2 separate regions of the Homo sapiens genome follow, and region 1 is linked to region 2. Evidence: promoter capture Hi-C in human tissues and cell types (Jung and others, 2019). All regions are on one chromosome and are shown on one strand. The core of a region is centred on a gene start or on the middle of the fragment in contact, and the rest is flanking DNA. Distances in the headings are between cores, read along the strand shown.

Region 1 (5,669 bases), core at 1,267-3,766, 530 kb before region 2:
AGTGCCACAGCTAGAACACAGGAGTGACTCTTACCACCTGGTTCGACATTTTCATTACCTATAGTCAGCAACATCCCTCAAACCTACAAAATTCACAATAATAATAGAAAATGAAAAATATATCTAATAAGCAACCTAGGCTTTAAGAGAATATCAGGGTAATTACATTTTTTTTTAGTAGAACCAAAGGTAAAACTATTATATATCGTTCCAAGATTCTAACTAAAAGAGTGTACACAAAATATTAAACTCGAAGGTGTGAAAGGAAGTGATATATGATTCCTAATAACACGGAATAATGGTATAATTCAAAGCAGAAACATAGTTCCTACTAGGCACAGAAATTTTTGGTAAGAAAGAAAAAAAAGGAGGCATTTCTGAAAAATAAAAATGCCAATATAAAGCATACTTTTATAAAAACTTCTCAGTACTAATTTTTATTTGCTCTCTGACTATTAAGTACTAAAACAGGGTTAAATTGATTAGTTTGCTTGCTATTATTTATCAGTTAGTTAAATGCTGCTCAGACTCTAGAGTTCATTAGCTTATCAGTCAAATACCCGTCAGCTGTACATAAGGTCTCATATACCAGCTTGCTTATCAACACATATATACAAACGCAAGTGGAAAAGAAAGCCTATTTAAAATGTATATTTAGAATTGTTCACAGTAAATATTTGACACAGTTAACCAAAATGTCTTAGCACTCTCTTACGTCTTACATAGCATCATAATAAAAACACGTAACAGAATTCAAAGCAGATGGAGCTCAAAGCTAAGCCATAAACTTGTGTTTTTTAAAAAAGAGAAAAATTGGTAAAAACATGGACTGACTCAAGAGGAACTTGGTATATCTTTAATTTAATTACTGTATATTTAGTAACAGTGTTACTTAATTTGACAAATATTGAATTCTCTAATTGATTATTTGCTAGTCTGATTTCTATGAATTCATGGGAGAGTTTAAGACAAGTGGTAACATTTAATGAAGGCGTGTTCTGATTAATTATCTCTCAGTGATCTGTCTGACATACAGTGAGTTATGAAAGTCATCAATAATTTCCCCTTATTTTTAAATAGCAATAATTCTCTCTCTATAAGAAGTTATATCTTAAGGGTTTTTTAAGCTATAATTCATCAAAAACAATGAAGCACTGGCTAAGAATCTATCAAAATAGTGGCTGACTACCAGATTGAAAATAAATTTACGCTGGGTGCAGTGGCTCACACCTGTAATCCCAGCAATTTGGGAGGCCAACGTGGGTGGATCATCTGGGGTCAGGAGTTCAAGGCCATCCTGGCCAATATGGTGAAACCCCGTCTCTACTAAAAACACAAAAATTAGCCGGGTATGGTGGCGTGCACCTGTAGTCCCAGCTACTCGGGAGGCTGAGGCAGAAGGCTCGCTTGAACCCAGGAGATGGAGGTTGCAGTGAGCCGAGACTGAGCCACTGCACTCCAGCCTGGGCGACAAAGTGAGACCATCTCAAAAAAAACCAAAGCAAAGAAAAGAAATTTAAACATTTTAGTACTGGAGGCAGACTGCTAGGAATCTTAGCCAACTTGTTATCATAACCGTGTCTACCTAAAGGCAAGCAAGAGAAATGCTGGGAAATAGCACAAAACAGTGATTTTGAGAAAATACAAGAATGATATATACATATAAAATAAAAGTATATAAACTTGTGCAGTGTATAGCAAAATAGCTACTTGTAATATAACATGAATAGTGTGGCTTCAGGCAATTGAACAGAGAAGTGAAGCTGAACGCTGCTATGCCAACCAAATGGCAAATGTGACACCTGATAATGTAAAACAGAGGCATCCCCAGGGCACCATGTAAAATTATTATAAAGTGGTGAAATAACAATATAAAGTTAATTTTATTAAAATTAACAATACTTCCCATCAGCACAAGACAATCTATATTCAAAATTAAAACAGTAGGAATGTTTATCTATTCAAGCATTCTGATAGGCTAAATATTGTTGACTGCTAAAAGAAATAAAGTTTTCAAGACTCTTTTTCCTATATATTCATAAATACTCATGCTTATGAGTAATATCATATTCAAAGGCCTGAAATTAAAAACATGTTTCCTTATGAAATTTGGTATATTTGGCATGTCATTAAAAAAATTCCTGCCTACTTTTTAAAAAAAAATTTGATATCTTGGAAATAAAAGAAGGGATAAACTGATCAAATTTTGCACTGTACTGTTTAACTACAATAAATAGAAATAGGTAAAATTAGTAATTTCACAGCATTATTTAAATATTAATGTTTGCTGATTTCTACTACTTTCTGATATTTGAAAAACTGATCTGCATTCACTTGCCAGCTGTGAGGTGTTGTGTTAAACAGAAGTATAAATTTTTAGGCTCTGTTAGCTTTCATAAAATAATACTGAGTGTTTTTTCTTGATTACAAAAAGAATGCAAGTTCATTACAGAAAAAAATGAAAATACAGAAAAGTACAAGGAAAAAAGAAATATTAGCCCTATTATGTTGTAATCTGTAGTCATTATTAACACTTTAGAACACATCCTTTCAGTATTTTTATCTATGCACCAATAAGTATATATATATATTTAAAAATTAATATTTAATCAAAAGTAAGCCTGAATGAAGACTACGTCATATTACAAAATGAATTTTATTTTTTCATCTAAACTAAAGGAGTATTTCAGAACATGTACCATGTTTCACCTAAAGAGTGGCTGCAGTTATATAATAAACTACATCTGCTGAAGAACTGAACATTAGTTTAAAATCCAGGAGTTAAGCAGTCAATAGTACCCTGAAGTGGGTGATGGAAATATTCTCAGAATTAGTATGAATTTTATTATTAAGGGACAGATGGATTTATAAGATCTCAAAATTTTGAGGCACATTCTCTATTTTAGATACTTGAAAAATCTGTTTCATATGTTTGGATATCAAAGTCCACTAAATCTACTATGATAACAATTCGTCTATGAGGCCAGTTTCATGTCCTTGATGATTAGAAACTAAACATGGGTTACAAGGTAGAGAAAGGGGCAATTCAAGAATTATTTGTAACTAAAGATGGTATGTTTTTTAATGTTATTATCAGAGGAAAGAAACAAAACCATTAAAAAATTATGTAACATTATTAAATTTAATTCAAGCCAATAATCTAAGCTTACACTGAACACTCATTCCAACTATTTAACCCTGGCTGCTGAGCTGAGGCTATAACAGCAGGTGGGTTATCAGACAATGCACTAGAATTTCACAAGATCGATTAAGTCAGAAGATAAACAAGAACTTCCCCAGCCTCTTTTATTCTTCCCGGATAATCTGTTTTATGTTCTTGAGGAAGGAAAGGCAAATCTTAAGCTTTACACTGTACCTTAGCACACTTTGTCTCTCTTCCCTATTTTATTTCTCACATAGTTTACATTACATCATGTCATTTCATTTATTGCCCCCTGAGGAATGCAAACTATGTGAAGGCAGGGTTTTCCACTGACATATCTCCAGTGCCTAGAACAGTACCTGGCACATAGTAGGTGCCCAGTAAATATCTGTTGAATAAATGAATGAGATTTCTGTAACTGGATAATTAGGGTTAGCAGAAGTCAATTTTAAATATTCAAAGAAAAGAAAAATATTTTACAAAAAATTAAAGACACTTCTGACCTGGTGTGGTGACTCACACCTGTAATCTCAACACTTTGGGAGGCAAAGGCAGGAGGGTCGCTTGAGGCCAGGAGTTTGAGACCAGCCTGGGCAACATGGTGAGAATGTTTCAAAAGACAAAAAATTAGCTGGCTGTGGTGGCATGCGCCTGTAATCCCAGCTACTCAGGAGGCTGAGGCAGGAGGGGTTTGAGGCTGCAATGAGTTATGATGGCACCACTGCACTCCAGCCTGGGTGACAGAGTAGACCCTGTCTTAAACAAAAACAAAAACAAAAACAAAATCATAAACTTTTGCTCAGAACTTGCATTTCTCTAACTTTGCAAGCACAAATTTTTATACCTGTTGACCACCTTCATGGGGTTACTTTGAAAATAGTAATTACTAAAGCCCACTTCACTGAAAATTTGAGAGTTAATTTTTAAAATTTCTGAATTTTGGGGCCACTGGTGCTGGAAAAAAAAATTACTCTCTCTGTTCTCTTTCTTGTAAAAAATTCAGTGCTAACCCACACAAATCCAGACAGCTGCCTCATCTATTCTGCTTCATCTATTCTCTTGCTGAGGACATTCTATATTCTTAGGTTCCTATTGAACAACAGCACCATTCTGAAAAATTTGCGTACTGGCAATCAAATCATTCTGCAAACAGTAACGCAGATTCCAATGATAAGATGAGTGAGCAGGATGCAAGAACATCTTAAAGATCACCTGCCACACTTGTGTTTGAGGTGCTCAATGGCTGTTTACACCAAGTGCCATCTGGCTCTATAGATATAATAACAATTATTCCATTGAGGTGTGTAGCTCCCTAAATCATATTAATATACAATGATTCCGCTAGTCTTATAGGAGTTGATGTCTTTGTGCGCTCTCATTTAACCTGGGTAATGCGCTAAAACAAGTCTGCCTCATCATTAAGAATTGATTTTTTATTTATGTGAATGTCACTGGCAATCCCATGATATCCCTTTGTAATTCAGTTGAACAGGACTGCATACTAGCGTTAATCTATTTTTATGGCATATCTTTAAAAATTTGCAACATCTTGCTACATTTGGATATTTATATAGAGATTTGTGTTCCTGCAGAAAGCTGTTGTTAGCTTTGGAGATCCACTTCATATAGCAATAGGGCAAGTATCTAATATACTTCATTAGCTATCTTATATCAGATAAGGGTTTATTTCTTTAAATTATTTAACCTTGGTATAACCTACTAAAATCACATAAATCACAAATACACTAATGAAAATCATTAGTTTAGCCTATTCAAAAAAAAAAAAAAGAAAGAAAGAAAGAAAAGAAAAAAGAAAACTTCCAACAGGGATAAAATTAAAACATTTTAAAATCAGCCCTCTGGAAGCATTTCATGAAAGTAACTTGGTGAATTTGTCATGATCACTCATTTCTTAATGTTGTCATTGGTCAATCGTTTAGTCATTGATGTTAACAACTATTCTGATGTGCTAACATTTGTAAAAAAAACCAAAAAAACAAAAACACATCGCTTTTTTTCTGGCTGATTCAAAATCTGATTTTAAAAGTCATAGTTACAACTATTTATAAATATGCCTTCATGAGTTTTGCTAATTTAAAATGAGATAAACACAATAAGCAACAATAAAAAGAAAAAATACATATTTTAAGATACCAAGAAAAAATACTACATCACAAAATTATACTTTAAATCTAGTCTTCCCAACAGTATTTACAAGATTATTAAATAATTACCTTATGGGGAAGTTCTGTCAGAACACCTCTCATATTTGGATGAGTATTATAGACTTTGAACCTGTTCATAAAGCAATAGCAAGCTTCTTCAGAAAGTCACTGAATTTTGGGCATGGGGAGATATGGTAAGTTATACTGCAGGTCTTGACCATTTCATGCTGCTGCTTTAAAGGCAGAATTACTCTTATGCTGTTGAATTTATCATACACAATTACTGATACTGCAACTCATAAGGAAGTTAAGCAAAGTTTCAGAACAAATAAATGAGGTAA
Region 2 (5,425 bases), core at 1,814-4,313:
AAAATTAGCTGGGCATGGTGGCAGGCGCCTGTAATCCCAGCTACTCGGTAGGCTGGGGCAGGAGAATCGCTTGAACCTGGGAGGCGGACGTTGCAGTGAGCCCAGATCGCACCACTGCCCTCCAGTCTGGGTGACAGAGGGAGACAGTGTCTCAAAAAAAAAAAAAAAAAAAAAAAGACTAAGAGCTGTACTACCAATGTAACAAACACAGTAAATAGCAAAATAGCATCTTCAGTTTTTCTTAATGACACAAGAAAGAGCATTGTGTCATTAAGGAAGGGTATTAGTCCACCTTTCCAAGTAGGATATAGTTAAGACACTGAAAAAATTCTCATGTTTCCTTCCATTTTAGTATAGGGTTTGATCTTGAGATCTTCCAAGCCAGAGGCTGTCAACAAGATCCTGGTTAGACAGCACGAAAATGTCCTACATTGGCCACCAGGGGGAGGGAATGAGCACTGGGACGGGTCCACTGGGACGGGTCCATTGCGGGTTATTTGGAAAAAACTCAGAGGAGGGTCCCTGTCTTATTTCCACTTCTGAAGGACTATACCTGTTGACTACTCTCCTCTTCCCTGGAGGTGTTGCAGAGGGTGGAAAATGTTTAGTGCTTTCTTTTATCTTTCTTTCTTTCTTTCAAACTCCAGCCTGTTGCCCAGGCTGGAGTGCAATGGCACGATCTCAGCTCACCGCAACCTCTGCCTCCTGGATTCAAGTGATTCTCCCGCCTTAGCTTCCCGGGAGCTGGGACTACAGGCATGCACCACCACGCCTGGCTAATTTTGTATTTTTAGTAGAGATGGGGTTTCTCCATGTTGGTCAGGCTGGTCTCAAACTCCCAACCTCAGGTTATCAGCCCACCTCAGCCTCCCAAAGTGCTGGGATTACAAGCATGAGCCACCGCGCCCAGCAGTTTAGTGATTTCTTTTGCAAAACTGAATGAACACGGGCATCCTATAAATGATAGAAAACAATAATTTGGTGGTTGACTAAGAGAACCCTGGGAGAACATATTTCAAGTTGTAGCCAAGTTTTTTCATCTCTGACCTTCATCACCTGGACTTTTTTTCTAGTCTATAGGAATATATAGAGCACTGAAAGTTTCGCCTATTGTGTCTGTCTGTGAAGTCCCTCTCTTTCACCAGATAATAGGTTTTCCTTCACGTACCTCCTTTTCATCTTTTGGTCCTCATTTCCCTACTGGAAGCATCCCTCTGAAGGCCTCCAGTGGTTCTTGGAAAATGTCAAATTGGATGGGGGAAGAAAAGATGTGGAGGTAAGACCTCTGGATCTTGCTTTCAGCTTTGCCCCTCCAACTCAGTATGTCATAAAAATCCAAGCAATTATTTCCTCTCCCACTCCCTATCTTCTCTATAATTACAGGACCACTAGGAGGATAAAAGCTTCACATCTAGAAAAGTGCTTTGAGCTTTGATTCAGACAGGATAAAATAAGATGTTTTTTGTGGTCTTTTGACTTTTCGTTTTAGTCACACTTTGAATTTCAGCCCGGGGCCTGAAAGGGTCCTAAGCAAAATGTGAACTAACAAGGGAGGGATGGGGCACCCAATTGCTCAAGGGCTTTGCCAATAAGAAGTGTTGAGAATGACAAGTCACCTGTAGTGGGAACAATAAGAATCTTGCTGACTTAGATGCCATCTTTTATTCTTCTAGAAACTGAGAAATTCTGCAAGATTGGAAGATGCAATATTCAGATCAGGCTCATGCCTAGTCATTTTCTCCACAATATTCAGGGCATTGCTAACAAAGACAGATGGATCTGGATCCAAATCCCAGCTCTACTAGTTTCTAGAATGTGTGACCATGGGTGAGTAACTTAGCCTCTCTGTACCTCAGCTTCTGTATAAGTAAAATGGGGATGATAATAATATTCATTTTATGGAGCTGTTTTAAAGATTAAATGAGTTAATATTTCTAATACCCTTAAAGCAGTGCTTGGTTCAAAATAAAGGCTATATTGTAAAATGAAAATATAAACCAGGCGTGGTGACTCATGCCTGTAATTCCAGCACTTTGGGAAGCCCAAGTGGGAGGATCACTTGAGCTCAGGAGTTCGAGACCAGCCTGGGCAAAAAAGTGAGCCCCCCCACCCCCACCTCCATCTCTTAAAACAAACAAAAAAGAAAATATAATAATAAGATTGGCATAAATATTAAATTTTTTTGGAGTGCCTCGCACATACTGGTGCTTTCAAAACGTTAGCTCCCTTCCCACTTCATCCCCCAATGTGATATTTTTCCTAGAGTTCAAATCCCAAAGGAGAACTTTCTGCAAAGCCAGAAGAGTATTTTTTCAGGAGGGGTGAGAAATAACAACTGGAAATGAAAGAACACCAGGCTGGAAGGCGGTAGGGGCATCAGCAGAGGACTATGCCGGCCATGAAAAATGGGAAGTGTCTTGCTGGAAGGTTTCTCCAGACAAAGGAAGAACAGTGATGAAGAAAATGACCCAATGATGGGGATGAAGGGGATGAAGAGAGTTGTGTGAGTCCCAGGGATCGCTGGTGTCTAAGCGACAGCTCCTTGGTGGACTGTGGTTTAGGAAATCGGGGGAGGGCGGGAAATGAACGTTAATAAGAGGGACTGAGAAGGGGGGAGTCCCGGAGCCGAGGGACCGTGAGGGTGAGTGCCTGGCGCCATGGAACGCCACCAGGGAGGGCAGCGGGCTACCCTGGGGACCTGGGTCCCGTGTGGGTTTAAGGAGACGTGTCTAGCCAGGTTTTCAGGGGACAGGCACCAGGAGGCTGCGGTCTGGAGCCAGCACCGGGCTTTGGGGCGCTCTTACCCGCAATTCCTACTCCCCCGTCTCGCCCCGCTGGGCTGCTAGTCCAGCTTGCAACCACACCTGCCGGCCCCCTCCTCGAAGGATGAAGGAGTAACGCTCCCATTGGCTGCCAGACAGCCCCAACCCCAACCCGCGCTCGCCCTAACTTTGGGTCCGCCCGGCCCTCATATTTGCATACGGGGCCTTCTAGGCCTTCGATTGGCCCCTGCAGTAGCTGCCATGCCCCCTCCCTCCCGAATCCAATTAACCGCCCAGGCGCTAGGGGAGGGGCGCGCCCACGGTTGTCCCGGGAGACGCGGAGGACGCGCGCACCGCGCACCCGGGCGCCAGGGGCTGGACCGCCGCTCGCTCCCGCAGCCCTACCCTTGCCCAGCGAGCCAAGCCGCAGTCCCAGCCCATCCGCGCCGGTGCCGTCGGGCGCCGTGCGCGGGCGCGGCCAGAACGTCTGGCTCCAGAGGTCCAGCTGCGCGGGGCTGCGGTGAGGGAGGGGGGCACCTTGAATTTAGGCCTTCGGGAGAGGGCAAACCTGAAGCAGGAGGCACTGTGGGAAAACACTGGTTGGAGACTTAAATCAGCATCTCAGGCATATTAGTGCCTGTGTCACCTTGGGCAGGCCACGTTACCTCTGTGAGGCTTAGCTTCTTCAACAGGAAAATGGGTGTTGCAAACCTGTGATGACCGCTCAGGCGTATTGAACCCTGACCTCACCTCCAGAGTGTGGGGGTCATGGCCTCCAGTGAACTGATCAGTAAGAGAGGGCCGCCTAGACCGACTGAAGAGTCAGTGAGACTTAAGGGGTTAGGGGTCTGGGCTTCTCAGAGCAACCATTTGGTCTCAGGTGGAGAATCTGTAGTAGTGACTGGATTCAAATCATTGAAGATGGTCGGGCGCGGTGGCTCACGCCTGTAATCCCAGCACTTTGGGAGGCCTAGGTGGGTGGATCGCTTGAGCTCAGAAGTTCAACACCAGCTGGACAACATGGCGAAACCTCCTCTCTACTAAAAATACAAAAATTAACCGAGCGCGGTGCGCGTACCTGTGGTCCCAGCTATCGGGAGGCTGAGGCGGGAGGATCGCTTGAACACAGGAGGCAGAGGTTGCATTAAGCTGAGATCGCGCCACTGCACTCCAGCCTGGGCAACAGAGGGAAACTCTGTCTCAAATAAATAAATAAACATTGTTCATTTGGGCCTGAGTTGGTAACCTAAGTTCCTCCCAACCCAGATCCCCTTCACCTGCTGATGTGCACAGGCAGAACACCAGAGGCAAGGGTGTAGCTTAGCCTCAAGCCGACCCTGGAAGCCTACTACGTGGTGCTTACAGTCACCCCGGAGTGAACAGAAGGCCCAAAGTGGAACCAGTGGCCCATCTGCTGCTCTTTCAGAAACCTCTCTGCCATCCAGTCAGCACTCTTCCCTTTTCCCCCCGCAGGTGGCCCCGTGCTGTGGTGCCCCTCCCCGACAGGCCCTAAGGGGCCAAGTGACCATCATTAACTGGTCACCCAGCAGATGCTTCCCTAAGACCAACTGTCCCAGCCTGGTCCCCTCCCCCATCCCACTGTTGTCTTTCCCCAGCGTCCTACCAATCTGCTCTGCCTAGCTCCTGTTTGGTCTCCGGTCCCTCAGGAGTGATATTGTGATGGAAATGAGGGAGAGGATACAGGAGAGAGCAGCAAAGATTTACGGCTTTCAGAGAGTTTCCACTAAAATCCCTGACAACTGGTTATTTATGAGATGTTGCAACGGGAGCTTATAGGCCAGAGCCTGGCACTACTGTCCTTTCAGGGCTGATGTCAGGAGCAAACACAGGGTGAACACGGTGAACAGTGGAGCTGCCCTCACTGTAGAGCAAAGCAAGCTTCAACCCGAGTGACAGCCAGGAAAGCAGAGAATATCAGTGATTTGTGCCTGGCAAACCCTAAACAGACAAATCCACAAGGTAAACACTGAGGGACTTACTCGGCCTGGGCATGAAAAACTGAAGCAGAATGATGGAGGGTCCTAATTGTCAAAAAATTTGGACCATGTCCTAGAAGCTGTCAGAGGCAAGAGTGTGTGGAAAAATCCAGGTCCAACCCTGTTGTTTTCACTGCTGTTTTGTTCCTAAGGCACCCACCTGACTAAATAGATAAATAGTAAAACAACAGTAAAATCCCCGTAAGGTTGTTTGCTCTGCACTTCACACACAGCGTTTTTTCTCAGTTTGGAGTTCTTCCTTTAAGTAGTTAATGAAACAAACAGAGATCCTGCTTCTGCTCCCTGAACCAAGGTCCCTCCTAGAAGCCCTTTCTTCCTGTGCCAGTCAAAATATATTTTTTTTTTCAGACGGAGTCTTGCTCTGTCGCCCAGGCTGGAGTGCAGTGGCGCGATCTCAGCTCACTGCAATCTCTGCCTCCTGGGTTCAAGCAATTCTCCTGCCTCAGCCTCCCAAGTAGCTGGAATTACAGACACCCGCCACCATGCCCGGCTAATTTTTGTATTTTTAGTAGAGACGGGTTTCACCATGTTGGCCAGGCTGGTCTCAAACTCCTGACCACGTGATCCGCCCACCTCGGCATCCCAAAGTGGTGGGATTACAGGCGTGATCCACTGCACCCGGCCAAAATAATTTTATTTTGTTTT

What was found. The method cuts DNA at HindIII sites, captures the fragments that hold promoters and counts their contacts. A contact is called where the count stands out against the background at its distance.
Region 1: a contact is called between a fragment that was not itself captured here and the fragment with the promoter of TTLL6 in region 2, in 1 of the 25 tissues and cell types used here (thymus).

What each region holds. Positions count from the first base shown.
Region 1 is chr17:48,287,196-48,292,864 of GRCh38, forward strand. The region is part of intron 4 of SKAP1 (src kinase associated phosphoprotein 1); the gene reads right to left. Among named protein-coding and RNA genes, the nearest start is that of SKAP1-AS2, 4.3 kb to the right of the region's middle. The HindIII fragment of the contact is 3,810 bases long and covers 612-4,421 here.
Region 2 is chr17:48,814,166-48,819,590 of GRCh38, forward strand. It overlaps TTLL6 (tubulin tyrosine ligase like 6), which reads right to left and starts at 3,064. Exons shown (of 16, transcript NM_001130918.3): 1 at 2,805-3,064. The coding sequence starts at 2,907. It overlaps LOC105371813 (a long non-coding RNA gene), which reads left to right. Exons shown (of 4, transcript XR_001752926.1): 3 at 1,674-1,827; 4 at 2,264-2,793. RefSeq lists silencers at 2,770-2,819, 2,910-3,259. The HindIII fragment of the contact is 9,954 bases long and covers 520-5,425 here.